5 separate regions of the Homo sapiens genome follow, and regions 1, 2, 3 and 5 are each linked to region 4. Evidence: promoter capture Hi-C in 16 types of primary human blood cells and fetal thymus (Javierre and others, 2016). All regions are on one chromosome and are shown on one strand. Each heading gives the region's core, a stretch centred on a gene start or on the middle of the fragment in contact. The rest is flanking DNA. Distances are from core to core; before and after follow the strand shown. Region 1 overlaps MCU (mitochondrial calcium uniporter). Region 2 overlaps MCU (mitochondrial calcium uniporter). Region 3 overlaps MICU1 (mitochondrial calcium uptake 1). Region 4 holds the start of MCU (mitochondrial calcium uniporter). Region 5 overlaps MICU1 (mitochondrial calcium uptake 1).

Region 1 (5,453 bases), core at 807-3,306, 160 kb after region 4:
TTTTATTACTCAAATTAGTCTCCCCAAATTGGAGACCAGGATTCTTCAAGGATAGTTTGGTGGGCAGGGGGCTAAGGGAATGAGTGCTGCTGATTGGTTGTGGATGCAGTCATAGGGGTGTGGAAAATGGTCCTCATGTGCTGAGTCCTCTTCTGGGTGGGGGCCACAGGAGCCTGAAAGGACATCTCAAAAGGCCAATCTTAGGTTCTACAACAGTGATGTTATCTGCATGAGTGGGTGTGGGGAAGTTGCAAATCTTGTGACCTCTGGAATAATGGCTTGGTGTAATCCCTTCCACTTACATCTTAGCAGAATTCAGCCTCCTCCCATCTTCCTAACCTGTTGCTCTTTCGTTAGTTTTTGTGAAGGCAGTTTATTTTGGGGGAAGGCATATTATTTAAACTAAAAACTAAATTTCTCCCAAAGCTAGCTAGGCCCAAGCCCAGGAATGACCAAGGGCAGTTTGGAGGTTAAAGGAAATATGGGGTTGGTTAGATTAGGTGTCTTTCACTGTCATAATTTTCTCACTTTTATAATTTTTGCAAAGACAGCTTCAAGATCCTCCAAATATATTTCAGACTCACAGATTCTATCTCGTATTTCAATTCAACTCTCTCTACTTCTTGATCTGTGGTTACTCTTTTTCACATACAGAAAGGGGATAATTGGATAATTTAATCACTAATCTTAATGACTTCGTCATCATTACTGCCTATAGAAAAGATAGAAATATTCTCATGTTAGTGGTTCTGACTTCAGGAAACAGTAGATTAATTGTTAAGGATTCTTTTAGAACAAGAAGGAATATAACAAATTTTAAAAATATCTTTAGGTATTGCAGACTTTAGATAGTACATGCTATATATTCAATTCAAATTACTATTTTGACCTCTTCTTCCTTAGGAAACAGACTATTCCTTTGGAAGGAAAAAGGCAATAAGGATTTCTGATTTTGCCTTTTAGTTTTTATGTAAAAATTCAAATCGTACATCCATGAAGTATTAGCTGCTATGGGAATTACTATCCTGCTATAAACAACTAGAACACCAGACAAAATATCTGAAACAACTGTTTTCAGACACTGGACAATAGGCACACAGGACTGTGATGCCTGAGATAAGAGGAACAAATGAGTTGAACCCTGCATTGGTTGAGTTTACAGCCTGAGGCGGCCTCTAAATTGCATCACAGAGAGGGGAAACAGAGCTTGGCCATCTAGTTAAGATGAAGAAACAGAGATCAGAGTTTGTAAATCCCAAGGCAGCTAGAATTTATGAGACAGAGGTTTACAGAGGAAGGAGCTATGAAGAGAAAGAGGAGTCTCGGAAATCTGCATAGGCATCCTGTGAGGCTTTGGCTGAATTCTAAACCACAAGACCAGGCTAGAACAACTTCCTAGAACATAACTATTGCCAGTAATATAAAATGAATAATTTTGCTTCCCTCTAGCCACAGTAGAGAGATAGCCTTGGACACATGAACATTTGGTAGACATTCTCAGAAGAACCATATCTTAGAAGTAGGGACAAATTGGTCCTAGAATAAAGGATTCTCTAGATCTGTCCTAAAATAATTTTTTGAAGTCTTGAAAGGGCCAAACTAACATGCAACTAATTTAACTATACAAGATCCAGCACTCAACAATGTAAAATTAAAAATTTCTAACCACCAATCAAAAATTACTAGGCATATGAAGAAGCAAAAAATAAGCCTTCCAAAAATTCAGTCAATGAACAGACCTAGAAATGTCAGAGATAATGGAATAAACAGCCAAGAATGTTAAAATAGCTATTATAAATATGATCCTTATGCTCATAGAGAAAAGGAAAAATATAAGTATAATGTGAAAAGAAATGGAAGATATAAAAAGAAATGCAACTTCTAGAGGTGAAAAATATGTCTGAAATGAAAACACCATATAGATGGAATTACCAGGAAATTAGACACTGCAGAAGAAAAAAATCCATGATGTTGAAGTATATTGCAATTAAAACTATCCAAAATGAAACTGAGAGGGGGAAAAAAGCCCCTGAAATGTATGAAGAAAGCCTCAGTGACCTGTGGGACAATATCACAATGGCCTAACATAAGTGTAATTGGAATCCCAGAAGGGTAGCAGACAGAAAAAAATAATAGTTGAATAAAGGTCAAAAGTTTTCCAAATTTGAGGAAAGCCAGATCTAAAAAATCTAACAACTCCCAACCATTCATAAAGAAAAGCAAAGCACATCACAGTCAAATTGTTGAAAACCAGTGATAAAAGGAAAATGTTGAAAAGCAGGCAGAGGGCTGGGCATGGTGGCTTACACCTGTGAGCCCAGCATTTTGGGAAGCCGAGGCAGGAGGATTGCTTGAGACCAGCCTGGGCAACATAGTGAGACCCTGTCTCTACAAAAATAAAAATTAAAAATTAAAATTAAAAAAATTAGCTGGCCCAGCACTTTGGGAGGCTGAGGCAGGTGGATCCCCTGAGGTCAGGAGTTCGAGAACAGCCTGGCCAACGTGGTGAAACCCTATCTCTACTAAAAATACAAAAATTTGCTAAGTGTGGTGGTGTGTACCTGTAATCCCAGCTATTGGGGAGGCTGAGGCAGGAGAATCGCTTGAAGGTGGTGAAGGCTACAGTGAGCCAAGATCACACCACTGCACTCCAGCCTGGGTGACAGAGCAAGACTCTGTCTCAAAAATAAAATAAATTAGCTGGGCATGGTGGCACATGCCTGTAGTCCCAGCTACTTTGGAGGCTGAGGCGGGAGTATCCAGTGAGCCCAGTAGTTTGAGACTGAGTAACCCATGATGGTGCCACTGAACTCCAGCCTGGGCAACGGAATGAGACCCTGTCTTTATTAAAAAGTAAAAGTTTTAAAAAGGCAGACAGAGGAAAAAAGACATAGAGGAACAAAGATAAGAATATACACAAACTCATATCATATACTATGCAAAACAAAATTTCTTTAAAAGATAATCAAAAGGTAAACCACACAAAAATAATGTGCAGTTTATAATATATGTAGAAAAACGTGTGAGAACAATACCACGAAGAATGCAAGCAGGGGGAATGGAAGTATTTGTTGTAAGGTCCTCTAAACTATACCTAAAGTGATATTATATTATTTGAAGACTGACTGTGATATGGTAAAGATGTATAACATAGAGCAGAATTCAGCAAACTATGACCTTCAGCAGTGCTCCTCAACCTTTTTGGCACCAGGGACCAGTTTTGTGTAAGACACTTTTTCGATGGTACCAGTCTGTGGCCTGGGGGTTGGCGACCCCCTAACCTACAGGCCAAAGCCAGCCTATTGCTTATTATAAATAAAGTTTGTTGGAACACAGCCATGCCTATTTGTTTACATATTGCCTGTGGCTGCTTTTGCACCACAGTAACAGAGTTTGTAGTTGTAACAGAGATCTTATGACCCACAGAGTCTAAAATATTTAATACCTCAGCCTTTACAGAAAAAAGTTTAGCAATACTTGCTCTAGAGTAATGCTTAAAAAAATAAAATAAGGGCCAGGTGTGGTGGCTTACGCCTGTAATCCCAGCACTTTGGGAGGCCAAGGCGGGCGGATCATTTGAGGTCAGGAGTTTGAGACCATCCTGGCCAACATAGTGAAACCCTGTCTCTACTAAAGAAAAATTAGTATGGTTGTGGTGATGGGTACCTGTAGTCTCAGCTACCCAGGAGGTAGAGGCAGGAGAATGGCTTGAACTCAGGAGGTGGAGGTTGCAGTGAGCCAAGATCCCACTATTGCACTCCAGCCTGGGCAACAGAGCAAGACCCTATCTCAAAAAAAATAAAAATAAATAAAATAAGGTATATTTAATAAGTCAATAGCAGAGATTAGCCTGAGCATTGTGGCTCAATACTGTAATTCCAGCACTTTGGGATGCTGAGGTGTGAGAATAGCTTGAGTCCAGGAGTTCAAGGTCAGCCTGGGCAACATAGTGAGACCCTGTCTCTACCCCCACCAAAAAAAAAAATTATCCAGGCACAGTTACATATGCCTATAGTCCTAGCCACTCAGGAAGCTGAGGTAGGAGGATCACTTGAGCCCAGGAGATCAAGGCTGCAGTGAGCTGTGATCACACCACTGTACTCCAGGCTGGGAGACAGATTAGGACCCTGTCTCTAAAAAAAGAGATTAAATTATAATAAATAGTGATTAAATGAAAAAATCCTTTTTAAAGAGATTAAAAGATAGTAAATCTAAAAATGGCAAGAATAGAGGAAAAGTAGAAGAAAGAACAGTAGGGTCAAAAAGAAAATAAGTAGTAAGATGGTAAGACTTATATTCAGCCATACTTAAATTACATTAAATGCAAATAATATACATACTTTAATTAAAAGGCAGAGATTGTTAGATTGGATAAAATAGCAAGACCCAACTATAAGCTTTCTACAGGAAACTCACTTTAAATAAAACATGGATAAGGTAAAAGGATAGGGAAAGATATACTATGAAAACATGTCACACAAAGGCTTGTATGCAAATAATCATAAAAGCTTTATTCATAGTAGCCAAAACCTGGAAACAACCCAGATGTTCGTCAACTGGATAAACAAGTTGTGGTGTGTCTATGCATTGACACCCTTCTCAGCAATACAAATGAATGACTACTAATGAACTAGTTAATTAATGAACTACTAATAACAACATAGGTGAATCTCATAATCATGCCAAGAGAAAGAAGCCAGATATAAAAGGGTCCATAGCGTGATTTTATTTATATAAAAATCTATAAAAACCTAATATAATCTGTGGTGACAAAATCAGATCAATGGTTACCCAGGGATTAACTGGGATGGGGATCAGAGAATTTGGGGGAATCATAGAAATGTTCTTTATTTTGATTCTTATGTAAAAACTCATCAGATTTCCATTTTAAGTAAGAATGTATTTTGTTATTTATAAACTATGTCTCAATTAGGTTTATTTCTTGAAAATTCAAATCATGAAAGATTTTAGTGTGAAGATTTTGTATATAATGTAGGCCTTATGAATTACTAGAATAGACAAGGAAATAAGATGTAAATGTCTACAACTACAACTATGGAAAGCTTGATGCATTTTGGATTTCCAAAACATTAATCTTAACATATGTTTGCTATAAACTCTTTGATTAGTAGGGATATAAATCCTTAGAAGCATAATAGAATGTAATTTTTGACTCTTACTTTATTTTTAAAAATTGTTTTTAGAAGCCAGGCATAGTGGCTCATGGCTTTAGTCCCAGCACTTTGGGTGGCCAAGGTGGGTCGCTGCTCAAGCTCAGGAGTTCAAGACCAGCCTGGGCAACGTGGTGAAACCCTGTCTCTAAAAAAAAAAAAAAAAAAAAAAAAAATAGCCTGGCATGGTGGTGCACGCCTGTAGTTCCCAGCAACTTGGGAGCCTGAGGCAAAAGAATCGCTTGAGCTTGGGAGCTCGAGTCTGCAGTGAGCTGTGATCAT
Region 2 (5,457 bases), core at 2,691-5,190, 140 kb after region 4:
TGAAATATTTTCAATTTAGGGGAATTATGGAAGAGTTTAGAATAGCAATGGTTCTTTGATCTTGAGCTCTTACAATTGCTTCCTTGGTTTTTGTTTTTTGTTTGTTGTTGCCATATTTCAAGGAAAAAAGGCAAGAGCAAAATAATTTTTGTTTTTGTTGTCTTTAGTAGATTCTAAGCTTCTGGAAAGTTTAAAGAAATAAAAGGACTTACATGTGTGTTTGTAAATACTTAATATGTAGTATTTTATAATTGCCAGTGTCATTATAGAAGTAGGCGGGAAGGACTTTGAGAAAGTGAGTTGTCCCAAAACTACAGAAACTGTTCTATAAGCAAGGATCAACAAACATTTTCTTAAAGGGCCAGATGGTAAATATTTGATACTTTGTGGGCCGTGTGGTCTCTGTTGCAGCTACTCAACTCTTGCAGCTATATACCAACCACTCAGTTTTGCTGTTGTGATGTGAAAGTAGTTGAGTGGGGTATAGAGAGTAAGTAAATGAATGAGCTTTGTTATGTTCTAATAAAATTTATTTACAAAAACAGGCAGCCAGCTTGCCAACCCATGTTCTATATCATCTAACAAATATTACTCATAACCAGCCATGTATTAATGTGGTTCACTGCCCCACAAAAACATCTTTTATTATTGTCAAGGATAATTTATGAACTCATAGAGGACAGAGGATTTCTGTTGTAAAACGGCCCAGTGTATGTATATTGAAGTGATATGATGGTTGGGATTTCCTTTTAAGAGATACGGAAGGGGAAAAACTGGGTGGCTGTAGATGAACTGAATTTGATAAAATGTTGATAAATATAGAAGCAGATGATAGGTTCATGAGATTTCTTCACACTGTGCTTCCTACTGTATGTGTCTGAAGATGTCAGTATTTAAAAGTTACTACATAAACAAATAATGGCCCAGTAAAGGCAGCAGTTTCTCCCTTCTCTTCTCACATCTTAGAATAGGAAGGAGAATAAGATAAAAATACAGACCCCATCTTCAGCACAACTAGGGAGATCTCTGCAATTCCAAAACACTAATTATATAAAGGAAGGTTGCCAGATCCAGTGAAGGTCAAGTAGAGGTGTGTGGGGAAACCCTGAGGAATGACACCTGTGGTCGCAGATCCCCAACAAAGCCAGCCAAACACAGTTCTCCAAAGGAAGCTGCCGACCTCAGACTTCTCCAAAGCAGTATTCAACACTGATTCTTTCCCTTCCAAATCCTCAAGGAAAGATTAATTTAGAAATTAACATGCCAAGCTGCAGGAAATTTAGCTCTCATGAGTCCTACTTCTACAGGAAGATGTGCAGCCAACCAAGAAATGAAAGGAGAAACTACAGCTAAAGTATTGGCAGTGAACATAGAGTCCATTGATCTATAGCATTAAGACTAAAACAAATGTGGAAATTAGATTTACAGAGAAGAATATGAATCGTTAAAACCTTGACAGTGCAGTAATGAAAGTCGGAAAGATGAGGAAATAAATGATGTTGTCATGTTTTATAACAACCTGTCAAAAGATGTCATTTGAAATCAGTAAATCTAGTAAAATCTTAAGATTGGGGTGGAGGGGAGTCTGTAGTTGATACATAGATACGTAGGTTAGAGCGAAAGGTAAATGCTAAGAGAAATAATCTAATAAACGAAACCGAATGGTAGAGGGAAAGAAAAAAGAAACATAGCTGTATTAATCATTGCTGACGATAGAGATAGGATTTTTATATGTTACAGTATATTTTATATAAAATTATAGTTATAACATAAACTATAAAATATAGGGTTGGTTTTTGTTTTGTTTTGTTTTGTTTTTTGCCTAACATGTATTTGATGAGGACTTGTTATTTGTCAAGCACTGTCAGTGACCAAAACAGATGAAAATTTTTGCTTCGTGGGTTGGAGGAGACAAAAATAAGTAAATAATTTGTTAAGAGGTGTTAAATGTATGGGGGGAAAATACAGCATAAAAGGATTCGGAGTACCCATTGATGAGATTGCTTTTTTTGAAGTGGATGAGTAGAGCAAATATTTGAAGGAACTGAGGGAGCCATGTAGTTATCTAGAGAAACAGTATTCTAAGCAAAGGTAATCGCTATTGCAAAGGCCCTGAAGCAAAAATGTAGCTGAGTTCAAGAAACAGGGAAGAGTCTAAAGGGGTAAAGCACAGTAATGTAGGAGGGAGAGTGGTAAGCGATGAAGTCAGAGATAATGGGATATCAGAGAATATTAGACTTTCAAAGGCCGTTAAAAGAACTTTGACTTTTACTCTGAAGTAACTACTAGAACAAAAAAGTAAGCCTTTCTTAAGGAATATATATATAACTAAAACAAAGCAAGCACAAATCTTTGAGTAATTTTATTTTAATGTTTTTTAAGAGATGAGGTCTCACTCTGTTGCCCAGGCTGGAGTGCAACGGCACGATCATAGATCACTGCAGCCTCTTCTAACTCCTGGGCTCAAGCAGTCCTCTCACTCAGCCTCCCAAAGTGCTGTGATTACCGGCGTGAACTACCATGCCTAGTCACTAGTAAAGTATTTTTACTTTAGAAAGCATAGCATAAAATTTCATAACTGATAAGAGATTACGTATGTATGTTATATTAATTAAAGTATGTAGGCTAATTCTCCTATTAAAACATTCCCAGATCAGATTACTAAGAAAATGAAAGCAAAGAAACTCAGAAAGGATAACAAAATTAAAGAACACACAAAGATGTAACAGGCATATGCAAACTCAAACGTGCAGGGATTGTGTTCCTAATATTGGACAAGACTTAGTCCAAAAACCATTACATGAGGAAAAAAGAGCCTACAGGATCTGCATGAAAACAACTTCAAAGTGCTTCTCAGAAATACAAACAGAGACTTAAATGGAAAGACTTAACAAGATTCTTTGGAAAAAATCAAAATCCTTTTTTAACCCATGAAGTTAATACCTCAAAACAAAACATAGCTAATATTTATTGAGAATTTACTCTATGCCAGGCATGTTCTAAGGACTTTACATGTATTACTCATTTAGTCCTCACAACTACTTTATATGGGTGATGTTAGTACCACTTTTTGCCCATTTTTCAGTGAAGAAACCAAGGCACAAAGAAGGTAATAACTTGCCCAAGAGTTGCAGTTAAAGTTACTGAACCACAAAATGAACTCAGGCAAGATTATTTCAGATTCTGTGCTTTTAACCACTACATGATACTGTTTTTTGAAACCAATAGCTATGTGTGTGTGTGTGTGTGTGTGTGTGTCTAGATAAACTGACTCTGAAGTTCATGTGGAGAAACAAATAAACAAGAATAGCTGGGAGTTGTCTTAAAGAAAAGTAATAAGGGAAAACTAGCCCTACCAGATACTGAAATAAGACTAGAATGTTAGTTAAAACAATGTGGCTACTAGAGCATGAACAGAATAGAATTTCAGAAGTAGATCCAAATTCATGTAATTATTTGGAAAATTATAAAGATAGCATTTCAAATAAGAAAGGAAAAGATGTATTATTCACTGTATGGGACAGCTATGTTGTCATTAGAGGGAAATTAGTTAGATTTCTACTTAGTAACTTTGACTAGAAGTAATTCCTAATGAATCAAAGATTTAAAACGAAACTAGCTGTGAGCCAAGTCTCAAGTAATTTTTAAATTATTTATTTAAATTGTTTATAAATGTCAGTCTTACATTTCTGCATGCTCTTTTAAGTTGAAACGAGATGGAAATTAATGATAGTCATACAAAGTCCATCAGCACAAAGAAAAATCATTTAGGACTCTGTGACAATGCACACCTTAATACAGCTTAGTAGATACTAAATGATTTTTCTTTGTGCTGATGGAATGGAATATGTCAGGCCTGAAGCTGGTATATTGGATTTTGTTCAGTTAATGCCTGCCCTTCCTCTTCCTTTGATACTTTTTGGGGTTGGGAAAGTAAAAGATACAAAGGAATAAATTAAGCATTTGGCAAGTGAGAAATGTATTCAGTATTCATTCTGAAACATGGTTTAGTTATGAGAACCTGAGTCCCAGATCCACATCCACAGTGATTGCTCTTCGAGGAAGTAGTAGAGGTGGATGTGAGTGTGAGTGATTTTTTCTAACACTCTGAAGCGGTCGTGATTAAGGACTCAACTAGTGAGGTTGCCTCTCCAGGTTTTTTAAAAAGGAGAGTGAACATAAAGACCAGATGCCTACTCAATAATAGTAAATTCTTGATACAGCTACTTAATAACTCTCATACCTGGTAAGAGATAGGAAGGAGACGCAGATCTGAAAGGTAACCGGAGGAAGAAAAAGCCAGAAAGTTTACTTGAGGCCTGGTAGCACCTAGAATCAATATTAAATGTTTTTAAAAGTACATAAAACATGATTTGTATAATTCTAATTTTGTTTAATGTAACATGTATACTTGTGTTTGTATATGTAAATGTGTTTGCATAAATCTTGAAAACATACCAAAATGTTCACCACTATTATTTCAGGATGATAGGAGTTTGAAAGACTTTTATTTTCTTTTATCTGTATTTTTAAAGTTTTCTACAAAGCATGCATATTACTTAAGTAATCATATGTATATATTTATTATATACACACACATAAGTATATGTTTGTTGTTCCATTCTGACAGTAGATGTATCTTTTGTGTTTTCTAGGTACACCAGAGGATCGCTTCCTGGCAGAATTTGGGAGCTGTTTATTGCAGCACTGTTGTGCCCTCTGATGGTGAGTTTCAGCAAATCCACCTTTTATGTCTAATATTATTTCCTTCTTAGCTCAGTGTTTCCTATTCTCTGACACAAAAATTTATAAACCATACTCTTTCAGTTAAGGTGGGCTTAGGGGTCAGAGAGAGAAAGGAGGAGAAGGAAAATAAAATTTGGATGAGAATCTAGTGAGTTTAGAGAAGAAACCAAGAAGAAACACTAAGTTCCATTAAGACTTTATAGGTTAAATGATCATTTATCTTTTATTTTTGAGATGGAGCCTTGGTCTGTCGCCCAGGTGGAGTGCAGTGGCGCGATCTCAGCTTAGTGCAGCCTCTGCCTCCTGGATTCAAGCAATTCTCCTGCCTCAGCCTCCCAAGCAGCTGGGACCAGGCGAGCACCACCATGCCCAACTAATTTTTGTATTTTTTGTAGAGACAGGGTTTCACCATGTTGGCCAGACTAGTCTCGAACCCACGTGATCCGCCCACCTCGGCCTCCCAAAGTGCTGGGATTATAGGCATGAGCCACTGTGCCCAGCCTCATTTATCTGTTAAAACTAGGGACATAGTTAATGTGAAGATCACAGAAGCACCATCTTTGGTGTTTTCTAACCATTGGGTCTTCACATTATGGATAATGATCAAACACTCCAGCCTCTTGTTGTATCAGAGCCTAGACAGAAGGAACTCAAAGTCTGAGACCTCCTGCTCTTGCTTATCTTTTTCCCTACTTAGGCATAGGACTGCAA
Region 3 (5,569 bases), core at 801-3,300, 240 kb before region 4:
GTGTCTCAAACCAATGTTTCTTTTAGATTCAATGAAATATGGCAGTAGGATGCCTGGCACATACTAAGAGCTCAGTAAATGTTGGCTGCTATTAATAATGATAGTAAGAACAATGAACAAAAGCTGCAAGTAATAAGTTTGTGGTCACACTTGCTTCTGTTAACTTTAGCTCTATTTAAAGAGAAATAAACTTTCTGTCTTCTACAAAGACAACAAAAAATAAGATTGAGAAAGGAAAGAAAAACTGTAAGTAAGTAATTCTCTTAATCCTCTCCTTTCTACTCTTCACATGAACATTTTGCATGTTTATAAGAAGAGAAATAAAAGAGATGGGCAAGACTGGAACTATGCTTAGAGCATGGAAAGTTGAATTATAACCTCTTTTTGCCCGTAAAAACCAGATTTCTGCAAAGGTTTACGGAAACAGGAGCAGTAGGGACAAACTATAAGGCCTGAAGTTACTATGTATGGGGCACAAATAGGTTGAGGGATAATAATGTACAAAATGCTTCCGATTCACTCTCTCATTTGAGTCTCATAATAACCTTTGAAGTAGGCATAATAGCTACTGCCTAGAGGGACCTGGGATTTGAAGAGATAATAGGACAACACCAAGATCATAATATAGGCTAGAGGGTTTTAAAATTACTCTATACAGATATATATTATTGGCATGATTATAGTCATGACAAAATTGTATATTACTGTTTCTATGAATGACTTAACAAGCCCATAATTACAGACTGACTGTAAGTATACATATATATTCCTAATAAAAAGAAGAAAAAGAAAACCTAGGTAAGCAATTATATGTTAAACTGCTAGTTTATAACCAGGAGGCAATGCTGTTAAAAATAGTTACTACTTGAAGTTTTCTATAGGAACAATTTCACAGATGCAATATACGAAAAAATCATTGGTGTACAGGCAGAAGTTAAAAAAAAAGATATGAAAAAATCAATTGTGCCTCAGTTAGGAAAATGGCCATGTTCAATGAATCTATCATGAAAAGTCTTGCTATGCTCCACAAAAGCTGGAGAGTTTAACTGAGAGGAACAGAGGTCTATTATATTAGAACGATAAAACAGTTAAGGTTATATCTGCTTTTACCTGGATGAACTGAGCTAAATTATGAAGTTGCATATTCTCAAATTTCTGCCTACACTAAAAACCTACATTTTGAGGACACCATCTGTAAAATTAGTAACACATTATTCTTCAGTCTCCAGAGCTCAAATCCCAGTTGATCTCACTTTTTCTGATGACCCACCCCTTCTTTGATTGGCTTAATCTTATCATCCATTTTAATTCTCACCATTCAGAAAGCCATTGCATAGGTGATGAGCTCATTCACATTGGGCACCATGGAAAAAGTTTATATATATGTGTGTGTGTGTGTGTGTGTGTGTGTGTCTGTGTGTGTGTATATGTGTGTGTATATATATATATATATATATTTTTTTTTTTTTTTTTTTTTTTTGAGACAAAGTCTTGCTCTCTTGCCGAGGCTCACTGCAACCTCCGCCTCCTGGTTCAAGTGATTCTCCTGACTCAGCCTCCTGAGTAGCTGGGATTACAGGTGCCCACCACCATGCCCAGCTAATTTCTGTATTTTTAGTAGAGACAGGGTTTCACCATGTTGGCCAGGCTGTTCTGGAACTCCTGACCTCAAGTCATCCGCCCACCTTGGCCTCCCAAAGTGCTGCAATTACAGGTGTGAGCCACCGCACCTGGCCAAGTTAATATTTTTTAATACACTAAACATTACATTGGAAAGTGCCCATTTTTTAGAAAAGGAGAGCTAGAGATTGGAACACAATATATAGAAATTAGAATTCAGATTAAGTTGACTGACAAGCATTAGGAAAAATGCAATAAAGATTGGGAGACTGAGGCTCAGAAACATGTAGCTTAAGGAAGCTTTAATACACAAAGTGAGAACAGTCCAAACACAGGCAGGTGAATGGCAAAGGATCTAATGGGCCACACTGTATCACTGTCATTCTCCTTTCATAAAGGAAAAAAAAAGAAAATATTTTCCCCCTTAAGAACAGGAAAACCATGAAGTCCTTTAATGATAACAATTGTAAAAAACAGCCAGGGAGAAAATTTGCAAGATTTCTTTTACAGTGCTGTAACCTATTGGTTAATTATAAGTTTAGCTGTCCCTTGCTAGACAATTAAGCTTTGTTTGTTCGTTTTGTTTTGGTTGTTTTAGATAGGGTCTCACTCCGTCACCCAGGCTGGAGTGCAGTGGTGTTATCATGGCTCACGTAGCCTCGACCTCCTGGGCTCAAGCGATCTTCCTGCCTCAGCCTCCAGGGAGCTGGGACTACAGGCATTTGCCACCATGACCAGCTAATTTAAAAAATTTTTTAATCTGGGCATGGTGACTCATACCTGAAATCCCAGCACTTTGGGAGGCTGAGGCGGGCAGATCACATGAGGTCAGGAGTTTGAGACCAGTGTGGCCAACATGGTGAAACCCTGTCTCTACCAAAAATACAAAAATTAGCAAGGCATGGTGGCAGGTGCCTGTAATCCCAGCCACTCAGGAGGCTGAGGTACAATAATTGCTTGAACCCAGGAGGCAGAGGCTGCACTGAGCTTAGATTGCACCACTGCACTCCGGCCTGGGTGACAGAGCAAGACTCTGTCTCAAAAAAAAAAATTTTTTTTTGGTAAAGACAGGGTCTCACTATGTTGCCCAGGCTGGTCTTGACCTCCTAGGCTGAAGCAATCCTCCCACCTTGGCCTCCCAAAGTGTTGGGATTAAAGGCATGAGCCACTGCACCTGGTAAGTTTCTTAGAGTACCACAGACAGACCATTAAGTCAGGTTATGTTTTAAATCCTGCAGCAGTAAAGCGTTTTTTTATTTTTTTCTTTCTGGTCATCAAGTTAATTAAGGTTTTCTTTAGTTTTTTTTTAAAAGCAACTTAAGAAACATAAACGATACTTCTCAATTTTGTGGTACTTTTTCATTTTTAAAATAGCTAATGAGGAATGTTTCATGCTTAAGTATATTGGTCTATCTCTAGATCGAACTTCACATTTACAAACATGGCTTTTAGGAGTTCCCACATATGTTTGGGAAGTGGAGTGGGCAAAATCCTGGAGAAGACAGAATTGTTGAAAGCGGGGCTGATACCCCAGAATGTGCCTAATATACTAGACCATAGATGCCACAGAGAGCTGGAGAGGGAGTGGGCATCAACATGTATGTGTACTTTGCCAGGCTTTCGTCCACATCTGATATTTACTAATTCAACACTATTTCCTGAAAATCTGGTTTGTGTTCTGTCTCTGGGAAGCACTAAGGAAATAATGGCGGGCCCAACACTCTCGTGAAAGTTCTCAGGGAGTGTTTGCAGAGAGACAGGTATTTAACAAACAATGAAATGACTATGTAATTAAGTGATTTGAAAAAAAAGTACAGAGTCCTTTGGAAATGTGTAACAAAAATGTGATCTAATTTGGGGTGGAGAGGTGGTGAAGCAGGAAAAGATATGAGTGAGGTTTAAGTGAGCTCTGAGCGATAAAAACAAGGTAACTAGGTGAAGGAGAAGGAAGAGAGCTCCAGGGAAATCAATAGTGGTGCAAAGGCTCTTAGTTAAGAGTGATTGATGAGATGAATCACGTAGTTAGGCGGCAACTGAAGTAGCCCAAGCAAAAGACAAGAATGGTGGTGGAGACAGAGACAGGTGGTCAGATGAGATGATGTTTCTGACAGTGATTGTGCGAATGGAGGTGACTGAAGGTATCAGTGCCAAACAGGTTCTTTTCTGCTTCATACACATTCCGGGGAACTAACTCTAACAACTTGCAAAGCCTGTGGTTGCATGGCTTTCTCACTGCTAATCTTAAATCTTTACTAAAACAAAGTCAGATCATGCTTTGTTTCTGCCTTGCAGGTCTTTCTCTTGCTGGTGCTAGCAGAATATTCTCATGTTTGAAATTATACTTCCTTAAATCTTTATTTTTTTAATTCTTTTTTTTTTTTTTTTGAGATGGGATCTCACTCTCTCATCCAGGCTGGAGTGCAATGGTGCAATCTCAGCTCACTGCAACCGCCACCACTCGGGTTCAAGCGATTCTCCCGCTTCAGCCTCCCAAGTAGCTGGGATTACAGCTGTGCACCACCACATCTGGCTAATTTTTGTAGAGATGGGATTTCACCATGTTGGCCAGGCTGGTCTTGAACTCCTGACCTCAGGTGATCTGCCTGCCTTGGCCTCCCAAAGTGCTGGGATTACAGGCGTGAGCTACTGCGCCCAGTCCCTTAAATCTTTTTTTTTTTTTTTTTTTGAGACAGAGTCTTGCTCTGTTGCCAGACTGGAATACAGTGTCATGATCTCAGCTCACTGCAACCTCCGCCTTTCTGGTTCAAGTGATTCTCCTGCCTCAGCCTCCCAAGTAGCTGGGATTATGGGCATGTGCCACCATGCCCAGCTAATTTTTGTATTTTTAGTAGAAATGGGGTTTCACCATGTTGGCCAGGATGGTCTCGATCTCCTGACCTTGTGATCTGCCTGCCTCAGCCTCCCAAAGTGCTGGGATTACAGGTGTGAGCCACCATGCCTGGCCTAAATCTTTAAATTGTTTTTAATATCATCTCTTCTTGGGGTCCTAATAGGCTTGCAACAGCTGATGCATCAATGTGAATGGCCAATATAAGACAATAGAGGCAGTGGCAACTATTAAAGAAGCTGTTCCCAAAATCTCCCATAGCTCTCAAAGGCAGCAGAGATCTACCTTCAAGAGTATCAGATTTGAAGAACTAGATGTAACACAGAAGATGAAGATAATCTTTTTTGTTGTTTTTTAAGAGACAGGGTCTCACTCTCACCCAGGCTGGAGTCCATGGTACCATCATAGCTCACTGCAGCCTTGAACTCTTGGGCTCAAGGGATCCTCTCACCTCAGCCTCCCACGTAGTTGGGATTATAGGCACTTGCCACTGTACTCAGCTAATTTTAAAATTTTTTATAGAGACAGGGTCTCGCTTTGTTGCCCAGGCTGGTCTTAAACTCCTGGCTTCAAGGAATCCTCCTGCTTTGGCCTCTTAAAGTGCTGGGACTACAGACATGAGCCACTGTGCCTGGCCGAAGATATTAACATTAGTTAGATATTTTCTTTCTTTTTTTGAGATGGAGTCTCTCTCTGTCACCCAGGCTGGACTGCAGTGGTACGATCTCTGCTCACTGAAACCTCCGCCACCTGGGTTCAAGCCATTCTCTTGCCTCAGCCTCCTGAGTATCTGGGATTACAGGCACCTGCCACCATGCCTGGCTAATTTTTTCTGTATTTTTAGTAGAGACAGGGTTTCACCATGTTGGCCAGGCTGGTCTTGAACTCCTGACCTCAGGTGATCTGCCTACCTCGGCCTCCCAAAGTGTTGGGATTACCAGCATGAGCCACCGCACCTGGCCAGTTAGTTATTTTCAATTCTATCCCTTCACTACAATTCGAATACTCACTTTTCTTCCTCTAGCTGTCAGGAAGCTGGGAGGCAATAACAAGCCCCAAATCATCTAGGGAGGATACACGCTATCTATGGCCTTGCCATAC
Region 4 (5,675 bases), core at 430-2,929:
GATTACTGTGTGCAGCTGTTGAATGGGGGCTCATTCTTGAGGTCTCAAGTTCCACCTGTTGGGCAATAAAGCCTTTTGAGTGAGTGACATGATATCTACCCCGGAGAAGCCAATCATCTCACTGTTTTGGTGTAGGTGGGGCATAAGGATTAAACAAACAAAAAACTTCCACGTCATTTTTTAGCTATTCTTGGCCAAGAAGGTACCATTTCAGTCAAACTTTAAAGAATATTCTTAGAATAAGTGATAACATTTTCTTCGTATTTATGTGTGTGTTTTGTTTTTGTTTTAAATTTATCATCTAAGGCTACACTACAAAGATGTTTTCCAAAATTTAAAATAATGCTTGTATTTGCTTCCCAAACTATTTTCCTGCTCCAGATTTTAAAAAGAGGTGTGAGAATTTAATCAGCTCATAATAATAAACAGCTAGCAAGGAAATACTCTTCTAAGGAAATTCAGGACCCAAAATCTTTCTTAGGCAGTATTCAAGGAGCCCTCATTGTGAGTTTAAGTGGAAAGAAGTGTTTTTCAAGAGAAAGTGTTTGTTATTCCAAAGCGTATTCTGATAACTATTTCGGCAAAATTATGAAGCATCATTAAAATAGCCTTTTACATGAATTTTTTTTTTTTTTTTTGAGATGGAGTCTTGCTGTGTCGCCCAGGCTGGAGTGCAATGGCCCGATCTCGGTTCACTGCAAGCTCCGTCTCCCGGGTTCACACCATTCTCCTGCCTCAGCCTCCGGAATAGCTGGGACTATAAGCGCCCGCCACCACGCCTGGCTAATTTTTTGTATTTTTAGTACAGATGGGGTTTCACCGTGTTAGCCAGGATGGTCTCGATCTCCTGACCTCGTGATCCGCCCGCCTCTGCCTCCCAAAGTGCTGGGATTACAGGCGTGAGCCACCGCGCCCGGCCTTACATGATTTTTTATTACGTTATTAATGTGTTCTGTTTCTGTAAATGCACACAAAGTCAAATATGATAAAATAGTGCTGTTTCTGGAGAGTGTGAGAATATCCGTATAAAGGTGCTGTAAAAATGAATTGGGTATTTGAGATGTATACACGTCAGTTAATTCACTCTGAAGGCATGTACTCATTCTGGGACTTTGATATTGTAATCGTTCTACCTCTCCTATATTATGCTACGCATCACAGTCATTAGATCACTCCGTGATGTAGAGTTAATTTCAGCATATCTAAATATTATCAGTTATGAATGATAATTCTAGGCGTGTAGTTGAGAGTTACAGCATACACCGTTAATGGTTATTAATTTGGTGCCTATTTTGCCAACTTAGAACACTCACTTAGAACTCAACTTCGAACAAAGCTTTTCACAAATATCTATATCCCCCGTTACTCTTATCATAGCTCTATTGTTGGTGAAGATTAGCCGAACTGAACATGCCATCTCTATTGCTGTTATTTTCACGGGTTTGGGTGTCAATTATGGGTTCCCTAGAATTTGCCCGTAATTGACTATGTCCCACTATAGGTAACTCTGGAAGGGACTGGCAGCTTCCAGTGTGGTTCTCCCGCCTGTCGATTGGACCTTGCAGGAAGCCCCGCCTCATCAACTCAGTCAAGGGCTTTAGTTGGCCCGGCGTCGGTGAGTGGCGGGTCTTAGCTCCGCCCTGGCCGTCCGCTGCGCTGCCTGGGTCGGCGCCGTTTCCAGTTGAGAGATGGCGGCCGCCGCAGGTAGATCGCTCCTGCTGCTCCTCTCCTCTCGGGGCGGCGGCGGCGGGGGCGCCGGCGGCTGCGGGGCGCTGACTGCCGGCTGCTTCCCTGGGCTGGGCGTCAGCCGCCACCGGCAGCAGCAGCACCACCGGACGGTGAGCGAGCGCGCCCGGAGGCTCCGGGGAGGGCGGGGCGGCGCTGGCGTGTGGGAGCCGCCGGCGGGCAGGCCGCCGGGGCAGCAGGCGAGTTACCTCAACTCCCGGCCGCTCCGGAGGTTGCCGGGCACCGAGGAGCCGCCGTGCCCTTCAGGCGCCTGCGGCGGCGACCAGGAAGGGAGGGCGGGCGGGAGGAAGCCGAGAGGAGGAGGAGGGGCGACGGCGGGGATGTTCCCGCAGGACTGGGGACACCAGGGCGGGGAAGGCACGGGACTTGAACCTCTCCCCGACTCGCCCCCAATCGCGTTCCCTCCCTTCTTCGTTCTTAACAGCCCTGCCCCAAGGCTCCCTGAACGGAGCCAGATGGAAGTTGTCCCCTTTCCCTCCTCCTCCGGGCGGGTTGGGGAGTTCTGAGTTGCCGCGGCCGCCTTGTGTGTGCCAGGAGAGTGGCAGTGCCATGCTGCTGGGAGCTGCCCCGGAGAGCAGCCCAGGACCCCGGCGGGGCCGCCCCTCGTCCTCTCTCGTCCCCGAGGGGTCGGGCAGGAAGGAAAATCAAACTTTATTCCCCTCTGTGACTTCCTCTGTGTGTGTGCATGGGGAACCGGCTCCCTCGAGATGGATGCTGCATTGCTTCAGGAGGCAAGCTTCATCCTCTTGGGTCCTTAAAGGTGCTTTTGGGGGTCCTTTCGAGGGCTACTGTATAAGCGTGTTCACGCGTGCCTGAAGCGGGAAGGGTGGTCAGCAGGCACAGGAGAAGCGAATATGGTAAGTTGTTGACAGAGGCAGAGATTTGGTGGTTGTATTAACCAGTTGTTGCTGGGTTTCATTGGCTGGCAGAAAAAGAGGATTTCTGTTTGAACACTCTTGGGTGAGTGTGTGTGTGTGTGTGTGTGTGTGTGAGAGAGAGAGAGACAGAGTGTGAGAGAGATTTCTTTTTTCAATTGCAAGAGATGAATTTGGCATGGAGTTCTTAACCTAACAAGTCAGGAGGTTTCCTTCCCTTGGACTTTCTAGACCTATATGTGTTGGTCTCTGGCCAGCTCTGAGGGAAAGAATGTAGGTTTTATTTGCTGGGGCTGAGTTGTATAGTGTGATTATTGGAGGATCACTGCAAACAGCTTGATAGGAGAAACTACAATAGTACCTTCAACCCTCAATAAACACATCGCCTGCCTTGTTCTGATCATAACTCTTAAGAGGAAACTGAACTGGAGCTCTTCGGAGAGGATACTCCTAAGGCCAATGACAGCATCAAAATCGAGTGCCTGAAAGATCTATGAAAAGACCTAATGCTCTGCAAAAGCAAGGTTGTATTGTTATTATTAGTCATAGGTATGGACCCTATCCTCATTCTTGTGAGAAGATTGTACCTCTTTTTATTTGGCATACTGGCATATTGCTTTGCTGAAGCTTTTGGGTGACAGCCAAGAGCTTTTCCACAGTTCAATTTAATTTGCATGTTTCATAGCCTCTAGTTATGTGTTTTGTTCTCTTAAAAACATAAGGCCACCCCAAATTTTGATTGCATTCCCCTTTCCGTCGAACTACTTAAAGGCTTCCCAAGTTGTCCTTAAGTCCATATTTTGATAAGACATCTTCTGACTTTGCACAGTTTTTAAGACTGTTTGGGTGTGATATTCATTTAGCATTTTAAAAAATTTGTGCCTTGTATATTTTCCACTATGCAAATTTGTCAGGCTGTGAGTGTCTCCCTTGTGGGGATACTTCACGAAGGTGTTCTCTGTGCTATTCTAGGGTGGGTAAAAATGAAGTGCTGAATTTGTAACTGAAAGCACAATTAAAACGAAGTGTTATTTCTAAAGGGCAGGAATGTTATGGGAATGGTGACTTGTACATGAATTTAGAATTGTAAGATTTTGAAAAAAATTGAACCTGATTATTTAAAGTGTATAAACATTTTATTTTTCTACAATTCTTCTGAAGCCATCATGTATACAGCTGTTTCCATAGGATAGTCTGTGATTCTTTACAAGAAATTCCATTTAAAAGATATTGAGGCCCTAAAAAGAGAGAGACTTGGCCAAGGTTACGTTAGCTAATACGTAAGTTTTAGGACTCCCACTCATCTGAGATATTCTCACCTCTTATTGTGTTCTTTTCATTGTAAAGTGCAAATGCTCCTTTACATCTCTCTCCTCCCTTATAAAATTTACTATTGTCCATTATGAAAGTATTGCTATTTCAAAACCCCATGAATGGGAATTCTCCTGTAAGTAGGTGTTGATTTGAGTACATATATTAGGTGAATATGGGAGCAAACAACTTACCAGAAAGAATAGATGTTCTGGTAAAGGTCCCTGAGAGACACTAAGGTTGAATCTTGCTTGGGAGACATCCTGTGTATGTGCAGCAGATGGCAGTCTGCATTGGAATGGATCACAAGTCCAGTTTGTGCCACTTTTGTTCCGCTGTATGGTATGGTAAATTACAACCAGGGGGGCATAACCAGTTACAGCACTGCCTAATTTTTTAAGTGAGAAATTCATCTTTTCCAAGTTTCGAGAATGAGTCCAAAGCAATACAGTAGCTCAGCTAGTTGGTAAGTGCAATTATGAAGTTATAAACTTAGTTTGTCTCTTCCCCCTTCTCCATTAGTATGTCATTCAACTGAGTAAATAAGAGTAAAGGTACAGGGGCTTATTCAATATTTTTAGCACCATCTAGTGTAATTTTTTTCCTTCTCTCCGGCTTGTGACTGTAACCAAAACTGATGTAAAATGTTTGTTGCCTGCTTTTCTGTATGGTTAGTGAAGGTGGCTGCTATTTTTAAGTATGATTCTTCGAAGAGGAACTGCCTTTCATTGTGAGCTGTGTAATTCCATTGCTAAAACAAACTATTTCGTCTCTGATTATGACAGCCCCACTGTTGGCATTTTCTAGCAGTTAACGGCTATGCTGAATTACTACATCTTTTACTTAAGTCTGTCATTGTCCTGTTACAGTTTGTGGCTGACTTGCTCTACTTTACACATCACAGTTCTTTTGGCAATGACATTGTTTCAGCTTAACCTGAAAGTTTTAACAGGTTACACTGCCTGACACAGAGGCAGGTCCTAACTCTTTAATTGAGTTCCTCATAGTCTGGCCCAATCTTATTATGCCAGATTCATCCCAGCACAAATACTCTGTTGTACTTAAGCTAGTCTCTGCACTGTCCCATACATTCATACTAAACCTTTATGGATTTTTTGTAGCTGAATTTCAGCCTTTATCACCCCTAATCACTCCTCTAGCCTTTAAGGTTCATTTCAGGTTACAGACTGTGATGTACAATTCCTTTTGAATCTAACATTCGCACTTTACACATGAGGAAACCTAATAAACTGAGGAAAGTCACTTGTTAAGTTATGTTTGTGGTTATGAACAGACCAAGGATTAAAATTCCTTTACTTTTTTTTTTTTTTTTGATACAAGGTCTTGCTTTGTCACCCAGGCTGGAGTTCATTGACACTGTCACAGCTCACTGCAATCTTGAACTCCTGGGCTCAAGCTCTCCTCCCACCTCGGCCTCCCCAAGTAATGTGCACCACCATGCCCAGCTAATTAAAAAAATTTTTTTGGCTGGGTGCGGTGGCTCACACCTGTAATCCCAGCAACTAGGGAGGCTGAGGCGGGCAGATCAGGGGGTCAGGAGTTGGAGACCAGCCTGGCCAACATGGTGAAACCTCGTCTCTACTAAAAAGACAAAAATTAGCTGGGCATGGTGGCAGGCGCCTGTAGTCCCAGCTACTCGGGAGGCTGAGGCAGGAGAATCACTTGAAACTAGAAGGCGGAGGTTGTAGTGAGCCAAGATCATGCCACTGCACTCCAGCCTGG
Region 5 (5,333 bases), core at 2,556-5,055, 210 kb before region 4:
CAGGTGTGGTGGCTCATGCCTATAATCCCAGCACTTTGGGAAGCTGAGGTGGGTGGATCACCTGCGGTCAGGAGTTCGAGACCAGCCTGGCCAAGATGGTGAAACCCCATCTCTACTAAAAACACAAAAATTAGCCGGGTGTGGTGGTGGGTGCCTATAATCCCAGCTGCTCAGGAGGCTGAGGCAGGAGAATCACTTGAACCCAGGAGGTGGAGGTTGCAGTGAGCCAAGATTGTGCCACTATACTCCAACCTGGGTGACAGAGCGAGACTCCATCTCAAAAAAAAAAAAAAAAAAAAAGAGACAGGGTCTTGCCTGTCATACAGGCTGGGGTGCAATGGCACGATCATAGCTCACTGCAACTTCAAAATCCTGTGCTCAGGTGATCCTCCCACCACAGCCTCCGGAGTAGCTAGGACTACAGGCACATACTACCAATCCCAGCTAATTTTTTTTCCCCCTGTAGAGATAGGGTCTCACTATGTTGCCCAGGCTGGTTTCAAACTAGCCTCAAGTGGTCCCCCAACCGCCTCTGCCTCCCAAAGTGCTGGGATTATAAGCATGAGTGATCGTGTTCAGCCCAGTTTCTTACCTTATATAATGTACCTGATACTTTCTCCCACTTCCTGGAATATTTGCCCCTTTCCTCATTTTGAGAATACAAAAAATGCTTTTTCCTATACATACAGTTTTTCTGTTTTGAGACCACTTCTGGCAATCATAATAACTGTATCTGGAGAAGCACCATGGTTCTCCAATGGCAGTAGTTCTATGGAAATGTAACCTATTCCTAGGATTTTGAAATTGTCACCTACTATAGTCAAAAATGGTATGGCACCATTTTTCCTTCTCTTATAGAAATCCTTTAAGAAAATATGTAGTCCTTGTATTCTGGAACTGCCTAGCACATAGCAGCTTTTTGGTAAATGTTGAATTGCCATAATTTAGCTTCCCAGCTAGAGGCATTATAACCCAATTTATGTTGGAGAATCGGAGCAACCGTGACCTTAACGGTATGTTCAAATAATTCATTACATTTAGAGTGAAAACAAACAAATAAAACCAACCCACCTGTTCAAAGAATAATTTTGAGAAATGACATTTTAGGTACTTCAAAAATTGGAATAGCCTCTGAGTATACTGACCAAGGCTAAGGTAACTCCAAGGCACATGAAAATGTATTTTAAATATTAATGTATTTAGAGGAACTCTCCAGGACAACTTGCCTGTTCAAATTCTTCCATATCTACTTCTCCATCTCCATTCAAATCAAACATCTTGAAGGCAATTTCAAAATTTCTCTGAGGAGCTGCAGAGGAGAGAAAAAAAATATTTAGAAGGCATTGACCAAAAATAAATCCCTTTTTAAAGAAAAACAAAAGGCTAAACACTAAAATGTAATATCAAAGTCACCATAAAAGTGACTGAGTCAAAGTCTCAATAAATGGAAAATGAAACTGCATTTATTGAGATCACCCTTTTAGGAATACTCCTTGAAACCAAAAAAGAGTAGTACTACGGCCAGTAAAGACAGCACTTGTCTACCTTTTTGTTTCAACATGCTTTGCCTTAAATGATTTAGCTTTGCTTTCAGAGACACCATCTTCTTAGCTTAGTAATATTAACGTTCTGTTGCTTCAATATGGTATTACTTATCTGGGCAAGAAAGTATGTCTAGGGTGAGACATATTGCTGCAAAGTAAGAAGTTGAAACACTACATCTTAGTCTTACCCTCACAACAAGCCAGCTTTCTACTTTGTTCTTTCTAGTCTCTTTGTTGTAAGTGCAGTCAGGAGTTCTGGGCATGTCACCCTGCCAACATGGATAATTTCAAGTTGGTTTCTTTTATTAGTTTATTCATTATCACTACAGCTCTATGGTAAGGCAGAAAAGTACACTGTAAGGTACTCAGCCCCCTATTTTTTTTTCTTTTTTTTTTTGAGACAGTTTCACTCTGTTGCCCAAGCTGGAGTGCAGTAGTGCCATCTTGGCTCACTGCAACCTCCGCCTCCAGGGTTGAAGTGATGCTCATGCCTCAGCCACCCGAGTAATTGGGATTACAGGCATGTACAACCATGCCTGGCTAATTTTTGTATTTTTAGCAGAGACGGGGTTTCACCATGTTGACCAGGCTGGTCTTGAACTCCTGACCTCAAGTGATCCACTCGCCTTGGCCTCCCAAAGTGCTGGGATTACAGGTGTGAGCCACGGCGTCTGGCCTCAGCCCCCTATTTCGATCATGTCAGCTGCATACACAAATTACTAAATATACTTAAATGGTAAAATTAAGCTGAAGTTTAAATAACAAAATGAAAAAATGCAAAGCTTGACAAAACTTTCCCTTAATGATGAAAGCTTTTCAAGGCTTCTTTAGTGTTCCTAGATCAGTCATAATATCATTAATATACTCTGTGCATTGGAATAAAATATAAACTCAACAGCCCTCCTCCCTTCCCATACTAAATGTTCTGGTAAAGAAAACTAAGTTGTTTACTTCCTTCCTTTGGTGCTTCAAATTTATACAGCTCTAGAGAATAAACCAAAATAAATATTCTATGTGTCCTTATACTAGTGAATTAAAATTTCAGTTAACATCATTTACATGAAAAAAGTTAAGATTTTATGCAGAGAAAAAAGTAAAATGAACTTTGTATATTATGTATAATTGTTAGAGAGGCCATATTCCCATCCTGCTCATGAATTTGTCAACAGAAACACTTTCTGGGCTCAAATTCCATTTTCAGGTAGTTAGGCAGCTAGGCTGGAAACTCCTGGTTTTTAGTTGCCTGGGTGAATCATGTGTGTGTCAGCTTCCAATTGTCTGCTTCACTTGATATTGACTTCCAATAGGTTTGCTTTCCTTTAGGCCAGAGACAGGGTTTCAACATGTCAGCTAGGCTGGTCTTGAACTCCTGACCTCAAGTGATCCTCCCACCTTGGCCTCTCAAAGTCCTGGGATTACAGGTGTGAGCCACCATGACCCAGCCTTCAATTGCTGGGAAGGATGCAGCTGGGGGAATTAGTTTTGTATATTTGTTGTCACTTCTCAAATTTTTGCTACCTGTCTGAATGTTACATTTTACTGAGGAGTTACTATGTGGCAGGCATTGAGCTAGATAATTGGAGGTGTTTATTATTTGACTTCATACTCTCAATCTTGAAAACTTTCATTTCTTTATTGTTTAAACAGAGGAGGATATTGGGGCTCAAAGCAGTTAAATGGCTAGCTCAAAAATCACACAGCTCCTTTTTGGCAGAAGTGGGAATTGAACTTAAGTCAACACTGACTCCAAAGCCTACAAACTTTCCTTATGTTCCAAGGCCTCTAATGTGAACATAGAGGTACTTAAAATGATAAACACACACTCTTCATGCTGACACGATTTGACCTAAAAACTAAGCAACAAAACATGACACAGTGGTTATGTCAGTCTCTGCAAAAGCTGAACATTCCAAGTTGATCATCTCAAGGAGATAACCAATATCACAGAAACACTGCCTGTGTTATGCTCAGGAGTTTAGGCTTGACCGTAGTAAATGGAAGATCCACAGGCAACATTAAACTCTCAGATAGGTTTGTCATGTGTTTTTGTTTTTTGGGACAGGGTCTTGTTCTGTCATCTAGGCTAGAATGCAGTGGCACAGTCATAGCTCAATGCAACCTCAGACTTCTGGGCTCAAGCAATCCTGCCTCAGCCTCTGGAGTAGCTAGGACTACAGGTGCGTGCCACCAAGCCTGGATAATTTTTCTATGTTTTGTGGAGATGTGGTCTCACTACATTGCCCAGGCTGGTCTTAAACCTCCTGGCCTCAAATGATCCTCCTGCCTCAGCTCCCCAAGGTGCTAGGATTATAGGTGTGAGCCACAGCACCCGGCTGGTTTGTCATGTTTTTTAAACTTCTGATTATAAATCTCTTCAGGTGGAAATGTTCTCTCTTATTCTTCCTTATTTTGTCACACTTGGCCCACTTCACTCCTATATGTTATTTGCCTAATTCCTGTAGATACTTGAGAATGTAACAATGGCAGAAAATATGAAGCCACTGAAGGTTTTAAGTAGGAGAGTGACACAATCAAGCAATTATAAAGGACTTCTCCAGCTACTGTGTGAAGAATGAGTTGGAAAAGAAAGGCCAGCTTTAAAGAAGATCAGAAGCTCTTTTAAATGTTGAAAATGCAAACTGCAGTGATGGCAGTGGTAATGGAGAGGAGGGACACATTTGAGATACCCAAAGAAGGCAGAAATTATAGAACTTAATGATTAGTTAGCTGTGATGAGTTGAGAGTGAAAAGGAATGACAGCATGACTGGCTTAGACTACTGTGTAGCTTGCATGGCATGAAGAAAGAGAGCAAATAGATGTAAAATGTTTGAGAAATAAAATGATTTCAGACGGGATCTGCTAAATTTAAGGGGTCTCAGCTTATGCAGATGAAGATGTTCAGGAGACAGTTGGAAATATGGGTCTAAAGCTCAGTGAGAGAGGTTTAAGCTGGGATTTATGGGCATACAAGTGGCTAGCTGCAAAGAACCTGAAAGGAAGTTGCCCATGCAAAACTGAGGAGTGAGGAGAAGGTCAAGAAAAGGGTAGATTGCAGGTGGAAGCCAATGTTTAAAGTGCAACGAAAAGGAAAGGAGGCAGTGACAGAGGAAGCGGCATCACAATATCCAGAGGAATACAGCCCAAATTAATAGAAATAGGAAAACATTTGATAAGAGCGAAGTCAATATGCTCCCATACATGAATTAAAGCAGTATCCCCATTCCCTCTCTCCACAATTACAGAGGTGACACAGACTGCTTACAACTTCAGCTTTATCAGGATCTTGTAGTCTTACTGTCTTGTGAGTTCCATGAAGGCATGTGCCCAGATCATTTAAATGACTGAATGAGTTATTCTAGCATATTATGGTTAATATCACCTCCTACAACTAAGGTTAAATACACTTTACCAAACAAAGTATACCCTGTAATGCTTGAGGTTTCTCTGTCTTTTTATCCTGGTATAGTTCCTTTCAAAGTACTGGCTTTATGTGGAGCAACTGAGAGTGCTTGTTAAAGTACATGCGCTGACACCACAGAGGCCATGAACCTGTGCTTGGGCCACTGCTGAGGCAAGCTGGGCTGCAGCCTTGGACATGCTCACTTGGGCCTCACCAGCCTCTCAGGGCCAGTCTTTCTAGAAAGAGCTCTCAGCCTATTCAATTTCATTGGCTGATCATGTCAAAGCATATGGGACAAACAAGCCAAAAACAAGCTTGCTTTAAGTGAAACATGCTACACAGTATATGATGTCAAGCGATTCTCTTGTAAACTTATTTGTCTCCTCTC

What was found. The method cuts DNA at HindIII sites, captures the fragments that hold promoters and counts their contacts. A CHiCAGO score of 5 or more calls a contact.
Region 1: a fragment that was not itself captured here is called in contact with the fragment with the promoter of MCU in region 4 in 3 of 17 cell types (M2 macrophages, M1 macrophages and megakaryocytes); the score reaches 7.0 in M2 macrophages.
Region 2: a fragment that was not itself captured here is called in contact with the fragment with the promoter of MCU in region 4 in 1 of 17 cell types (megakaryocytes); the score reaches 8.6 in megakaryocytes.
Region 3: a contact is called between a fragment that was not itself captured here and the fragment with the promoter of MCU in region 4, in 2 of 17 cell types (M1 macrophages and megakaryocytes). The highest score is 6.0, in M1 macrophages.
Region 5: a contact is called between a fragment that was not itself captured here and the fragment with the promoter of MCU in region 4, in 2 of 17 cell types (M0 macrophages and monocytes). The highest score is 5.4, in M0 macrophages.

Annotation. Positions count from the first base shown.
Region 1 is chr10:72,851,448-72,856,900 of GRCh38, forward strand. All of the region lies in intron 2 of MCU (mitochondrial calcium uniporter), which reads left to right. Among named protein-coding and RNA genes, the nearest start is that of OIT3, 40 kb to the right of the region's middle. The HindIII fragment of the contact is 4,677 bases long and covers 1-4,395 here.
Region 2 is chr10:72,829,704-72,835,160 of GRCh38, forward strand. MCU (mitochondrial calcium uniporter) reads left to right here. Exons shown (of 8, transcript NM_138357.3): 2 at 4,656-4,725. Among named protein-coding and RNA genes, the nearest start is that of OIT3, 61 kb to the right of the region's middle. The HindIII fragment of the contact is 7,528 bases long and covers 177-5,457 here.
Region 3 is chr10:72,446,738-72,452,306 of GRCh38, forward strand. The region is part of intron 8 of MICU1 (mitochondrial calcium uptake 1); the gene reads right to left. Among named protein-coding and RNA genes, the nearest start is that of DNAJB12, 95 kb to the left of the region's middle. The HindIII fragment of the contact is 265 bases long and covers 1,919-2,183 here.
Region 4 is chr10:72,690,464-72,696,138 of GRCh38, forward strand. MCU (mitochondrial calcium uniporter) reads left to right here and starts at 1,680. Exons shown (of 8, transcript NM_138357.3): 1 at 1,680-1,838. The coding sequence starts at 1,689. RefSeq lists enhancers at 1,298-1,357, 3,028-3,117 and silencers at 1,558-2,017, 2,108-2,157, 2,178-2,267. The HindIII fragment of the contact is 1,146 bases long and covers 1,335-2,480 here.
Region 5 is chr10:72,475,948-72,481,280 of GRCh38, forward strand. It overlaps MICU1 (mitochondrial calcium uptake 1), which reads right to left. Exons shown (of 12, transcript NM_001195518.2): 7 at 1,227-1,309. Among named protein-coding and RNA genes, the nearest start is that of DNAJB12, 120 kb to the left of the region's middle. The HindIII fragment of the contact is 2,903 bases long and covers 2,355-5,257 here.